2 separate regions of the Homo sapiens genome follow, and region 2 is linked to region 1. The links are contacts of gene promoters, found by promoter capture Hi-C in blood cells and fetal thymus (Javierre and others, 2016). All regions are on one chromosome and are shown on one strand. The core of a region is centred on a gene start or on the middle of the fragment in contact, and the rest is flanking DNA. Distances in the headings are between cores, read along the strand shown.

Region 1 (7,341 bases), core at 2,051-4,550:
ATCTGTTAAGAGATATCCCCTGCAGTCAGGGGCGGTCAGTAAAGTGCTGAGCCTTGACTTTGTAATGTGTGTATTCCTATAATATCAGTTATACAAAATTATAAAAGTCAGACTAATAAAATAGACAACTCAGAAAATTTTAAATTCATAAACACATCGCTCAAGGCAATCAGAATGCAGTCTTCTTAGGATACAAGCAAAGGAGAGCGCATTCTCTTGGTACCAAATTGGTCCCCTCAATACTTCATGTTAGTTTTCACTCCTCCTTGACTAACACCATCTAGTTTTAAAAAGCACATTCCTTCATAAGGGATCACTTTTAAAACTTGGGATCCAGCTTGCTGTATTAGGGAAATACAAATAGACATGTTCCAAAAATGGTATTGCCATTGATCATTGGTATAATATGGATACTAGAATTTCAGAGTGGTAAGCGTATTTTAAAAAATGGAATGTAACTGCCTAAAAGTCCATACACAACCATGAGTTTAGCCCTTTCAACATCCTTAGGGAATGAACTTTAATTCTGGAGCATTTCCACTGGACCTCTAGCAGGCAAAGGCAGTAACTTTTAATTCTGGTCATCTCCCCCATTCCCTTTATTAAAAATGTGAAATACTTCTAGGAGGAGGAGGAAGTTGGAGCAAAAATACAGAAAAATACAAGATCACAAGTACAAAGTTTTCTAAGTGCACATTACTTGAAATTCTCATAGTCTGGTCATTTATTTTAAGTAGTGACTCTATGTGGGTCCCAATATCACACTGAAAAATCATACAGAAAGTCATATCCTTCACTAAAGATGTATGTTTAGCAAGACAAAAAACAATAACATATTGTCTTACAGTATCATTTTCTGATGCAAATATTGTGTTTCTTTCAAATGTGATATTTAACACGCCCTAACGCGTAATACTTTTGTAGCCATTACCCTTTTAAAATCCCCTATCGAATATGGTATCACTATGCTAAAGGACTGTCCATTCTATCTTGTTCACTCTTCTGTTTGAAATTGCTAATATAATTTCCCTCACTTCTGGTCATGTTTGTTTTTAAAAAACTCACTATTAATCTTATTTTTCCTTTAAGTAAAAAAATCATTACCCTGGGATACCAAAAGAGCAGCTTCTGCTCTTCACGTTTAAAAAAAAAATACTGCTTGTCCACTATGCTTGTCTTAGAAAATTTAGAAGTCTCACTAAAGAGCTGAGGAGGAAAACTGCTGGGAATGCTCACAGATACCTGATTTTACAAGTTTTTGTGGAAAGAGCTCGCCTTTAGATTAGTGTTACTCAGTGTTTATGAGGGTTGTTTGTCAAGGCAAAAATAAGGTACCTCCTCCCCACAAATTAAAGAATCAAGTTACAATCCATTATTTCATTTCTGATTGTTTTTCTTTGTATTAAGTGGGAAAGTGGATACTGGATAAAAGTTCCCCGAGCTAAAAGACTCCACATTAAAGGCTCCAATTAGCTATAAATCAGTTGTCTTTCCTACTGGGGGAGAACAAGAGAGAAAAGAGAGAGGGGGTAGTTAGGGAGTAAGAGAACTGGAAGAGCTTCCAAATTAAATTCTGAAAAACGTACCTATTGCATACCTAAAATTTCTTTCAGAGGCTGTTAGAAAAATCCCATCAAAAATAAGACTAAAATCAAACCTTCCCAAATCTGAGGGTTAGGTCTTTTCTCCTGTGTAGATCTTCCATTTTAAGACCTTTAAAAAGAGCCTGAAGAGGTTAGAGACCCTCATAAAATAAAACTTCTAAGCTGCATGCTTTCCCTGCTCGTTCCTAAACCCAGACAAGTGCCACACATTGGCACTATTGTTATGCAAACAATGCCTAAAAGGTTATAACCATTAACGACCTCTCATTAAAACGGCTTTGAAAAATTTGTCACACCATCTAAAAAAGCTAGCAGGTACATTAAATCCATCTAAATCGACATTCAAAACACAAATCGCCCTGATTTGTAACCTAAAACTCAATGCAAGTAAAATCTCAATATTCTGATGTTGTTTCTTGTATATCTCATTCAACCACTAAGCCAGATGCAAACAATTTACTTCTCTACAAAATTTATCTTGTAAAAAAGCACGATGGAATACATCTTTAATCAACCTTTAACCATATGCATGTGCGTCTATGCGTTTGCGTTAATTGGGAGAAGTTGAGTGTAGAAATGTACCGAAAGGACTAGAAAATCAAACCAGAGAACTACAAAATGAACTCCAAGAAACGTGGTTTTCAATCCCATCTCTCTCTCACCACCTCCCTCAAAATGTTGTAACATTACAATACCCCTACGTTTGTAATCGATCATTTTTTTTCTATGTCGAATTTGTGGAAAGTAAATTCATTTTATATTAGGTAGCAGACGCATATTCTTTTTTAGGCGATGCAACAACAAAAATCCTGCTTAGCAAACCCAAGATGTCAACGTTCGTTATAAAAAAAAAAAAGTAAGTTCTTCAGTTCAAAACCGAACATGCTAACAAATATTAAAACTTTTTAAGTTTCCCAGGGAAACTGCCGCTGCCTACAAAATTCACATGAAACGCTGACGTTGGAGTTACTGTACTTATCAGTCAGGTTTCCGTGAAATTTGTCAAACCGGCCAGAGCGCTGGTGTCTTGACAATTCCTTACGGGAAAGCCCCTCAGCACCCTCCGGGCTGTGGAGGACCTGATTGGGACCAACAGCCGAGGGGCCCGGAAGGCGGAGGACCGAGAGGCGACGGCCAGGCTGCGTGGCCAAGCTGACGGGGAACCCCGGCCTCCATCTGAGGATACTAAGCGGTTCCGACGCCTTCCCCCGCGGCAGTCGGGACCGGGAGAATCGGACAGAAACCAGCCTCAGAGTCCGGGGCAGGAGCCGTTGACGGCTGCCCCTCAACGCTGCGCTTCGGGTTGGGTTAAGTCCCCAAGGCGTCCTCAGACCACGGCGGGGCTTCAAACGCCCCAGTCCCGAAGACAGGCAGGGGGTCCCTCTGCTGCGCCGGGATGACAGGCTGGCCCCGACGACCCCGGCCCCGTCCCGCAGCCCTCACCCGCTGAAGAGATCGGGGAAACCGAAGAAGGTTCTAGAAAGTCTCCGTGGACGACGGGCGCTGGGCGGCCGCTTACCTTGGTGTACTTAATTTCGAGATTGGGCGTGGGCGACGGCAGGAGGTGCAGCGACGCCATGAGGGCGGCGGGGTCGGCCTTCACCTCGCCGGGCATCTCTATCTTGCTGGAAGTCATGGTGGCGGGCCGGGTGTCCCTAGCCCGCGGCGTGGGGCAGTGCGGGCTGTGCGCGCGGTCCGCGGCCCGGGGGCGCGCTCGCCTGTATATAGGCAGGTGTCAAGCTGGGGCTCTTCTTATTGGACGTGAGGGCCGAGGCGCGGGGGGCTGGTCCATCCTACCTAGGACGCCCGGCGCAGCCTCCATTTACATAAAGCCCGCGCCGCGCGGCCGGGACGCTTGGCGCCCACGGTCAAGTCCGCCCGGCGCTCCCGCCCCCCGGCCGCGGAGACCAGCCCACGCCGCCTCCACAGTCCTCGACGGTGGGAGCGGAACTTGCGCCGCGGCCCGCGGGCCTCGGCCAGCCGGACTTGGTCTCCGGGTCCCTGGGTCAGAGTCGGCGGGAGGCGCACAGCGGCCGAAGTCGAGCGAGGGTCGTGGCCCCCGGAAGCGGAGCTGGCAGGGGCTGGCGGGGACCGGAGCGGCCCGGTGCTGCTTCGGAGTAGAGAAAGGCCAGGAAAGTCCAGGCTGCGGAGGGCGGCTCCCAGCTCGCCCACGTTCCCTCCCATCCCCGTCCCAGGACCCACCGAACCCCGTCCCCCTTCCTTTCCGGAGACCCGGGAGGGCGTCCTCCGTTCTCCTCCTCCGGGCAGGGGCGCCAGGCTCTCGGCAGCTACGCCCTCTCCCCCGACCCCCCGACTCCCCTCAGCCGGGCCGAGGTGCATGGTGGCCAGAGGGTCAGGGAGAGGTGGCAGTGGGTGCGAGTCCCCCTCGCCTCGGGCTCAGAATGAGGATCCCTGCGAGCGGGTCAGCGCGGGGCGGCCCTTGCCAGGCGTCGCCCGCCCAGTTGCTGCCCTCTGCCGGCCGGGACCGCCCGGGCGGCTTGCGCTGTGGCGGGAGGATATGGGCAGTGATCATCCCCGGCTCCTCCGAGGAGCTGCATGCTTCGTGGGCTCCTTTAGTTCTTCTCGGATCCCCTCTTCCGGCTGTTTCCCCTCCTCACCCAGCACACCCACAGAAACACTATTTTGTTTTTCTGTTGTTCCTTACACGCTAAGAGCTATCGTCCCGCCAGACCTTAGGCTCATTTTACTGTCCCTTTGGGATTGAGTTTCCATCTCCCCCCTAATCTAAGTGTTTCCAAAGTCTAACAAGCTGCCCTCTAGTCTGTGGATCGGCCTGCAGGTGTAAACCAAGAACCTAGAGACCCTGCCTCAGAATGGGCTTTGGACTCCGTGGACTAAATCAAGGCCGCATGGAAAGACCTGCATAAGTCCCTTCCCTTCCTTACTCCTCACTCCAAATGTAAGCTTGACAGGGGCCTACAGTGTTGATAAACGCTTTTTCTACACTACCAAGCAACACTGTGATTCTCGTCTTTTTGTTTTGTTTGAAGAGACAGGGTCTCACTCCTTCACTCAGGCTGGAATGCAGTGGCACCGTGACAGCTCACTGTGATCTTGAACTGGGCTCAAGTGACCCTACCACCTCAGCCTCCCAAAGTGCTAGGATTATAGGCATGAGCCACTGCACCCGGCCTGATTCTCATCTTAAATGCCATTTTTAGAGCCGCTGGAGTCCCATTTCTTGGGCGTTAAGAAAACATTAAGCATCAGCCAGAAAACATCTTTCCTTAGATACTTTGAGTAACTAAAACTGCCTAATGCTCAGCGCTCAGATGCTAAGCAATAGTGAAAACAGACAAAAATATTTCATTTTAGTATTAGGTTTATAGAAATAAGTTCCAGCCTCTCAGAACCCAAAGTGACCTGGGTGAATCGTTTTCATGGAGAAACTACAGACCTTAGCTTGGGCAGTCGAGGGATCTGTACTCAGGGAATTTCTATGGCCAAAAATTATGACTTAATAACAGTGTATGCTCATAAGATATACTTTTATCAAAGCCTTAGAAGGTTAGAGATACAATTGAGAAATAAAAAAGTAAAATCTTAGAGTTCATTGGGGAGAAAGAGAGGGTTCCAGCAAGGGGGAACAGTGATACCTGTGGAAAAACTTATCACTAGTTATGAGAGGCTGTGGGGAAAACATGAAAAAGAGCCATAACAACATGAGCTGAGTGCTCCAAGGAGGACGCCTACTCCCTGGGAAAGCTGACCTTTGGCTGGGTCTTAAGGGAGAAGGGAGGCTTCAACAAGAGCAAAAAGAACACTATAGAAAAGGTATAGAGGCTGGGCACGGTGGCTCATGCCTGTAATCCCAGCAGTTTGGGAGGCCGAGGCGGGTGGATCACTTGAGGTCAGGAGTTCAAGACCAGCCTAACCAACATGGTGAAACCCCATCTCTACTAAAAATACAAAAATTAGCTGGGCCTGGTGGCAGGTGCGTGTAATTCTAACTACTCGGGAGGCTAAGGCAGGAGAATCGCTTGAACCCAGGAGGTGGAGGTTGTAGTGAGAGGAGATCTTGCACTCCAGCCTGTCTCCCTTGTGCCTTCCTCAGTTCCTAAAACAGCGTAGAACACATAATAACTATTTAATAAGAATTTTTGTTGGTTGATTTGAGCAAAAGACAGAGCACTTTTGACAACTTCCACCGTAAGTGAAAGTAACTTCCTTCACTGCCTGATTAAAGAACATTTTCTCCTCTTGATCTTAAACTTCGTTTTGCTTTTCCCCATCGGTGTTTTTTTGTTTTTTTGTGTTTTTTTTTTGAGACAGAGTCTCGCACTGTCATCCAGGCTGGAGTGCAATGGTGTGATCTCGGCTCACTGCAACCTCCGCCTCCCAGGTTCCAGCGATTCTCCTGCCTCAGCCTCCCGAGTAGCTGGGATTACAGGCATCTGCCACCACACCCAGCTAATTTTTTGTGTTTTGGATAGAGACAGGATTTCCCTATGTCAGCCAGGCTGATCTCGAATGCCTGACCTCATGATTCACCCACCTCGGCCTCCCAAAGTGCTGGGATTACAGGTGTCAGCCACTGTATCTGGCCAAAAAAGATATATATTTTGTCTATATTCAGCTCGTGACAGCAGCCACTTTTTGTTCAAGCCCCCTTTTTTGTTTTTTTGAGACTGTCACCAAGGCTGGAGTGCAATGGCATGATCACGGCTCACTGCAACCTCTGCCTCCTGGGTTCAAGCGATTCTCCTGCTTCTGCCTCCTGAATGGCTAGGATTACAGGCACTCACCACCATGCCTAGCTAATTTTTGTATTTTTAGTGGAGATGGAGTTTCACCATGTTGGCCAGACTGGTCTCGAACTCTTGACCTTAACTGATCCACCCTCCTCGGACTCCCAAAGTGCTGGGATTACAGGCATGAGCCACCATGCCCGGCTGTTGTTCAAGCTTTTTAAATCAAGGTAGGGACAAGATGTAGCGGAAAAGAACAGTGAATTATAAATGCTTCTTTGGTGTTCATCTTCTTGGTTTCAGTTTGTAAGATTTACAAGGCTATTACTTCCAAGGCTGCCTTAACACCTCTTCTCACATTCTTATTTCCTCTTCTCTTTCTTTTATCATCTAGTTTTAGTGTTTTCTCATATCCTCTACAGATTTCACAATAGTTAAGAAGACAGTCTTTGGCCAGATGCGGTGGTTTACACCCGTAATTAGGCCAAGGTGGGAGGATTGCTTGAGGCTAGGAGTTCAAGACCAGTCTGGACAACATAGCAAGACCCTGCCTCTACCAAAAAAAAAAAAAAAGTATCCAGGCGTGGTGGTGCATTCCTATAGCCCTAGCTACTCAGGAGGCTGAAAGAGGAGAATCGCTTGAAGCAGGAGTTCAAGGTTATGGTGAGCTATGATCACGCTACTGCACTCCAGCCTGGGTGATGGAGTGAGACCCTGTCTCTAAAAATAAAAAGACAGTCAACTACCTTCAGATTTCTAACAATTTGAATTTCAGCCTTTTCCCCCCAATTTGGCTAAGAAACTGTTTTTTTCCCACCTTTACAGTGTTTCTCCTCCCACCCCCCCCATTCTGTAATTATTTATTGCTTAGGATACATCTTGTTTGAAACCCCTTGCATAAGGGAACCTAAGCTGCAGCATGCTGTATTTATTTCCTTATGAAAACAATTTATTAGGCCTGGTGGAGCCAATATCCTGGAGTTGCAGAGGAGAAAAATAAATTCTTGCCTCATATTTCCTCACCTAAA
Region 2 (7,341 bases), core at 2,005-4,504, 91 kb before region 1:
ATGAAGGCCAGTATAACCACTATGTTTCCAGCCTTCTGTCCCACCATTCCCACCACCACTCACCCACGACTCTAGGCACACAAAACCACTTGCCCTTTCTGGAACATGCCTGTGTGTCTTTGCATAAGCTGCTCCATCTACCTGCAGTGCCTTTTCACCCCTTGCTTACTTGATAAACTCATTTTTACAGAGATAACTCTTTCACCTCCTCTGAGAAGGTAGCTTTCCTTCCCTACCCTCCCTACAGGGTTTGGTGTTCCTTCTCTGATCTCACAGTGCTATGTACGTAACTCTCACATTGTGCTTGTTTAATAGCTGTCTCCCCGACTACAATGACTGACTTTTAAAAAAATATGCATATGTACACAGATTTTAAGACAGGGTCTCACTCTCTTGCCAAGGTTGAACTGTAGTAGTATGATTATGGCTCACTGCATCCTTGAAATTCTGAGTTCAAGCAATCCTCCCAACTCAGCCTGAGTAGCTGGGACTACAGGCACTTGCCATCATGCCTGGCTAATTAAAAAAAAAAATTGGTACAGACAGGGTCTCACTATGTTGACCAGGTGGTCTCAAACTCTTGGCCTCAAGGGGTCCTCCTGCCTAGGCCTTGAAAGCACTGGGATGACAGGCCTGAGCCACCAGGGCCCAGACAAACTTTCAATAATTTGTTAAGTCAATAAGCCAGAATACGAAAATTGCTTGAGAGCAGTGGTGTGATCACGGCTCACTGCATCCTTCAACTCCTTGGCCCAAGCAATCCCGCCATTCAGCCCCTTGAATAACTGGGGCTACAGGTGCACACTACCAAGCCTGGCTAATTTATTTTTTATTTTTTTTTGCAAAGACTGGGGCTTGCCATCTTGCCCAGGCTGGTTTTGAACTCCTGGGCTCACACGATCTTCTGGTCTTGATCTCCCAAAGTGCTAGAATTATGGGCGTGAGCCATCGTGTCCAGCTAATGTTATTGTTGATTGAGCACCTATTCTGTCTACTTGTTTTCACAAACATTATTTTATTTAATCTTCATGACAAAACTGGGAGGCAGGAATTATTATTCTATTTTATAATTGGAAAAAAAGACAAGACAAGACTCACAGAGGTCAAGAAATGACTTGCAAACAGGCACCCACTGAGTGGCAGAGCCAGGACTGGTCTCAGAATGTGCACACCAAGCCTCAGGCTCTTCTCCCTCCTCTTCTCCAGACCTTCTCCTGGGAATTGGTTCCCCTTTGCTGTGAGTAGCATTTTGACAGTTAAATGCATCATCTACCACTAACATGTTCAACTGCCTTGTACACTTAGCCATCCTTTTGTTACATAAGACTCTATTTCAGGTAAGCTTTAAAAATCAAGGTTTTGATTGTCTTGGTCTGCTTTGATAGGAAAAAGCATGGAGTAGTCAAGCCAAAAGTACTCTATGTCCCATTAACTAGGTGAGCTAAAGGGATCAACACCTTAGGACCTGCTCAAACTCAGCCTGAGTTTTGGGGAGAAAGCTAACTGCAGAATCTTTGACTTAGCATAGTTAGAGAATAAATCATGGAATCTCATCCAGCAGGCAGAGACTATACCATACTTATTCTTCAGTCTTCAAGTTTTAAGAATTTTTTAAAAAGAGAAGTTTTATGCTAATAGTTTAAAACCTACACAACCAAAGGTTTTTCCACATGAAACTGGTTTTTTCAATATTTTCATGACATTCAAACTGGTATTTTTAAATAAAATACTGAATGATTCACGAATGGACTCACACAACCTTAGAAAAAGGCCTATTAGCTGTTTATAGCTAAAACTGTAGCAAGCCACCTCCCCTAACCTAAAATGAGGGGTGAAGCTAACTAGGAGAGAGCTGACCTGATTCATGACTCAAGCAGTAGAGATGGTGCTTGTATCATGCAACATGACATTTATCTCACTTAGGAAATAAAAGAACCCCAGCTGCGTAAATTAGAATGAGTGATAATACAGCTGTTAGCTACAAACATTTGTTTGGCACGAATCAATCTGGACTCTGCTGTAGTTTGCTTTGATGGTCTCTCCACTATCTTGCTGCTAATGATGAGATCATTGTTTGTTAACCTGAGTAAAGAAAACACTATACCAAGCAAAATGCATATTGTTTTCCTGTACTTTATTGAAGTTGTTTATTGACTTGTGTTTATAAGAGCTCTTTTATATTTATTAAATATTTACATGCACTGCTTATGTATTTAGCTGCATAAGGAGAAATTAATCCCATCTTTAATCTGAGTAAAGTTGTTGGCTTTCTAAAGGCCTTTTGCTTTAGTAAAATGGAAAGCAGCCACCTCAAATAAGCTTCTTCTTGTTAACTGTTCCAGACACTTTGTAATGTACCAATAGGTCCCATCTCCCTAAGGTAATCACAGCAGAAGCCATGTTCTAATCCATATTTAAGTGACATGTTCACTCTGGAAGAATCTATACAACTTCTCAGGTAGCCTGCAAAGTTAGAATAAATGGATAAAGAAGTAAATAACTACAGCTGAAAAGGGGTTTGGGGATTATGTGATCGTTTGATTTGCCTGTGAAAATTCTCCATCCACCACTACTAATATGGAAATTACAAATTGGCTTTTATATTCTAGACAAATGCCGCTCTCCCTTAAGTCCTTTAGTGTCTGCCAATAATGTCATTCCAGAGAAGAAACTAAGAGATAACCTAGAAGTCACGGGATTAGTTCCCCTCCAAATGAATGTAAGCCTCTCTACAGAGAGAGAAGAATCAAATGTAGATTCTGTTAGAAAGTTTAGCTGAAAACTTGCTCTATTCACACTGTAATAGGCTACTTAATATTTTAACTATTCCTAAAAGCAAAACAATTCAAAGACCCACCTTCCACCCTATTCTCTTTCCCAAATTCTCCCTTCTCTCTCTCTCTCTCAGTTCCCTATTGAATATCTCAGTATTGGAAGATTGCATAGGTAGTTGTTAATGTTTTATTTGTGAAGATAAAAAAATTCCTGTTGTTATAAAGCTATAATAGTCAAAATAATGTGATACTTGCGATGCAACAGTCACACAGATTACTGAAACAGAACAGAGAGTACAGAAATAGACCCATATAGGGCCGGGCGCAGTGGCTCATGCCTGTAACTTTGGGAGGCCAAGGCTGGTGGATCACGTGGTCAGGAGATCAAGACCATCCTGGCTAACATGGTGAAACCCCATCTCTACTAAAAATACAAAACATTAGCTGGGCAAGGTGGCGGGCGCCTGTAGTTCCAGCTACTTGGGAGGCTGAGGCAGGAGAATGGCATAAACCCGGGAGGCAGAGCTTGCAGTGAGCCAAGATCGCGCCACTGCACTCCAGCCTGGGTGACAGAGCGAGACTCCATCTCAAAAAAAAAAAAAAAAAAAAAGAAAGAAATAGACCCATATAAATATGGAAAATTTATGCTTGAAAAAAGCAAGCATCACAAAGGCAATTCAGTGGAGGCAGGGTAGTCTTTTCAAGAAATGGTGCAGGAACTATTGTCATTATCCATCTATCTAGCACTTGGATCCTTACCTCTCAACATACACAAAAGTTGAAGTAGATCATAGGCCTAAATGTAAAACACAAAACTATAAAATTTCTAGAAAAAAAGCATATGAGAAAGTCTTTGTGATCTTATGTTAGGCAAAGATTTCTTAGATACCATACCAAAAGCCTGATCTATAAAAGAAAATGTTAATAAACTGGACATCAAAATTAAAAACTTTAAGAGACACTGGGAGAAATTATTTGCAAAGCACAAAGGACTTTTATCCAGAATATACTAACAATTTTCATAATTCAACAATGAGGAAAACAAACAACGCTTGTCTCCAAAGTGTGCAAAGATTTAAAGATACTTCACCAGAGAAGATATGCTGTGGCAAATACACAAATGAAAAGACACTCAATGGTAGAGAATTGGAAATTAAAACCACATTGAGACAATGCTATATACCTATTTGAATGGCTAAAATGTAAAAGACTAACCACATCAAATGTTGGTGGGGATGTAAAGGAGTTCAAAGTCTTAAACATTGCTGGTAGGAATGTAAGATGGTATAACCGATTTGGAAAACAGTTTGGCAGTTTCCTGCCCTACCACACAATCCAGCCATTCCATTCCTAGGTATTTACCTAAGAGAAAAGGACATACATGTCCATACAAATATTTGTACATGAATGTTCATAGAAGCTTTTATTAGTCCCAAACTGAAAACAATCCAAATGTTCATCAGTGGCTGAATGGATAAACAAACATACAACAAATGGATAAATCCAAATGTTCATCATTGGCTGAATGGCTATTAAACCTGATACAGGTTGAACATCCCTTATCAAAATGTGTAGAACCAGAAGTGTTTTGGATTTGGGATATTTTTTCAGATTTTGGAATATTTGCATTATACTTACCAGTTGAGCACCCCGATCTGGAAATCCAAAATCCAAAATGCTCCAATGAGCCTTTCCTTTGAGCATGATGTTGGTGCTCAAAATGTTTCAAGTTTTGGGGGCATTCCAGATTTCAGATTTTTTGAATTCAGAATAGTTAAACTATATACCCATAAATGGACTACTACTTGGCAATAAAAAAGAACGAATTGATATGCACGACATAGACAGATCTCAAAATAACTGTGCTGAGTAAAAACAGCTAGACAAAAGAGTATATACTATATGTTGCCATTTATATAAAATTCTAGAAAATGCAGATAATCTATAGTGCCAGAAAGCCTGGGAATGTGGGGGTGGGGGTGGAGAGAGAGATAAGACAGAGAGATTACAAAGGGGCACTAGGAAACATGTGAGGGTGAGGGACATATTCATTGTGAACTCTACTGATGGTTTCACAGGTAGATGGATACACATGGCCAAGACTTATCAAATTGTACACTTTAAATAAGTGAAATCTATTGTATATCAATTATACTACAATAAAGCTGTTAATAAAGGTACATTAAACAAAAATATTACTTCATTACAGAAATTATGCCATATATCTCTTTGTTGTCCTTTGCAGACTACTGGCAGTAGTTGGTCTTTGCACAACTACTGAAAAACAAAGGAAACTACGTAACATTTTTCTGCAAAGAAATTTCTCCCTACACCAGAATTCCATTCTGGCAAACTCAGTTTGAAGGAGTGGCCACCACTCTAGGCCACAGCAAGAAATCATGAGTGAGTTCCTTAATAGGTACCAGGCATCTTCTTCCAGCACTGTATTTTTTAAAATTATACTTTGAATTCTGGGATACATGTGCAGAAAGTGGAGGTTTTTTACATGTGCCATGGTGGTTTGCTGCACCCATCAACCCATCATCTACATTAGCTATTTCTCCTAATGTTATCCCTCCCCTAGCCCGACAGGCCCCGGTGTGTGATGTTCCCCTCCCTGTGTCCATGCATCCTCATTGTTCAACTCTCACTTATGAATGAGAACATATGGTGTTTGGTTTTCTGTTTGTGTTAGTTTGCTGAGAATGATGGTTTCCAGCTTCATCCAGGTCCCTGTAAAGGACATGAACTCATCCTTTTTTATGGCTGCATGGTATTCCATGGTGTATATGTGCCACATTTTCTTTATCCAGTCTATCATCGATGGGCATCTGGGTTGGTTCCAAGTCCTTGCTATTGTGAATAGTGCTGCAATAAACATACAAGTGCATGTGTCTTTATGGAAGAATGACTTATAATCCTTTGGGTATATACCCAGTAATGCGATTGTTGGGTCAAATGGTATTTCTAGTTCTAGATCCTTGAGGAATTGCCACCATCTTCCACAATGGTTGAACTAATTTATACTCCCATCAACAGTGTAAAAGCATTCCTATTTCTCCAAATCCTCTCCAGCATCTGTTGTTTCCTGACTTTTTAATGATCGCCATTCTAACTGGTGTGAGATGGTATCTCACTGTGGTTTTGATTTGCATTTCTCTAGTGACCAGTAATGATGAGCTTTTTTTCATGTTTAACGGCCACGTCTTCTTTTGCGAAGTGTGTGTTCATATCCTTTGCCCACTTTTCGATGTTTTTTTTTTTTTCTTGTAAACTTGTTTAAGTTCCTTGTAGAGTCTGGATATTAGCCCTTTGTCAGATGAGTAGATTGCAAAAACTTTGTCCCACTCTGTAGGTTGCCTGTTCACTCTGATGATAGTTTCTTTTGCTGTGCACAAGCGGTTTAGTTTAATTAGATCCCGTTTGTCAATTTTGGCCATTGCCTTTGGTGTTCTAGTCATGAAGTCCTTGCCCATGCCTATGTCCTGAATGGTATTGCCTAGGTTTTTGTCTAGGATTTTTATGGTTTTAGTTCTTACGTTTAAGTCTTTAATCCATCTTTAGTTAATTTTTGTATAAGGTGTAAGTAAGGGGTCCAGTTACTGTTTTCTGGATATGGCTAGCCAGTTTTCCCAATTGCTTGGATTTTGTTAGGTTTGTCAAAGATCAGATGGTTGTAGATGTATGGTGTTATTTCTGAGGCCTCTGTTCTGTTCCATTGGTCTATGTATATCTGTGTTTGTACCAGTACCATGCTGTTTTTGTTACTGTAACCTTGTAGTAAAGTTTGAAGTTGGGTAGCATGATGCCTCCAGCTTTGTTCTTTTTGCTTAGGACTGTCTTGGCTATACAGGGTCTTTTTTGATTCCATATGAAATTTAAAGTCGTTTTTTCTAATTCTATGAAGAAAGTCAATGGTAGCTTGATCGGGATAGCATTGAATTTATAAATTACTTTGGGCAGTATGGCCATTTTTGTGATACCATGAGTATGGAATGTTTTTCCATTTATTGTGTCCTCTCATTTCCTTGAGGAGTGGTTTATAGTTCTCCTTGAAGAGGTCCTTCCAATCTCTTCTAAGTTTTATTCCTGAGTATTTTATTCTCTTTATAGTCATTGTGAATGGGAGTTCACTCATGACTTGGTTGTTTGTCTATTATTGGTGTATAGGAATACTTGTGATTTTTGCAATTGATTGTGTATCCTGAGACTTTACTCAAGTTGCTTATCAGCTTAAGGAGATTTTGGGCTGAGACTATGGGGTTTTCTAAATATACAATCATGTCATCTGCAAACAGAGACAATTTGACTTCCTCTCTTCCTAATTGAATACCCTTTATTTCTTTCTTTTGCCTGATTGCCCTGACCAGAACTTCCAATACTATGCTGAATAGGAGTGGTGAGAGAGGGCATCCTTTTCTTGTGCCAGTTTTCAAAGGGAATGCTTCCAGCTTTTGTCCATTCAGTACGATGTTGCCTGTGGGTTTGTCTTAAATAGCTCTAATTGAGATATGGTCCATCAATACCTAGTTTATTGGATTTTTAGCATGAAGGGGTATTGAATTTT

Evidence for each region. Contacts are between HindIII fragments. The CHiCAGO score rates a contact against its expected background, and 5 or more counts as called.
Region 2: a contact is called between a fragment that was not itself captured here and the fragment with the promoter of ALDH1A2 in region 1, in 1 of 17 cell types (endothelial precursors). The highest score is 5.1, in endothelial precursors.

The regions. Positions count from the first base shown.
Region 1 is chr15:58,062,411-58,069,751 of GRCh38, forward strand. ALDH1A2 (aldehyde dehydrogenase 1 family member A2) reads right to left here and starts at 3,301. Exons shown (of 13, transcript NM_003888.4): 1 at 3,124-3,301. The coding sequence starts at 3,240. ALDH1A2-AS1 (ALDH1A2 antisense RNA 1) reads left to right here and starts at 2,815. Exons shown (of 3, transcript NR_147215.1): 1 at 2,815-3,332; 2 at 4,405-4,524. RefSeq lists enhancers at 2,319-2,838, 2,839-3,358 and a silencer at 3,967-4,156. The HindIII fragment of the contact is 8,256 bases long and covers 1-4,527 here.
Region 2 is chr15:57,971,070-57,978,410 of GRCh38, forward strand. All of the region lies in intron 7 of ALDH1A2 (aldehyde dehydrogenase 1 family member A2), which reads right to left. Among named protein-coding and RNA genes, the nearest start is that of ALDH1A2-AS1, 90 kb to the right of the region's middle. The HindIII fragment of the contact is 1,875 bases long and covers 2,318-4,192 here.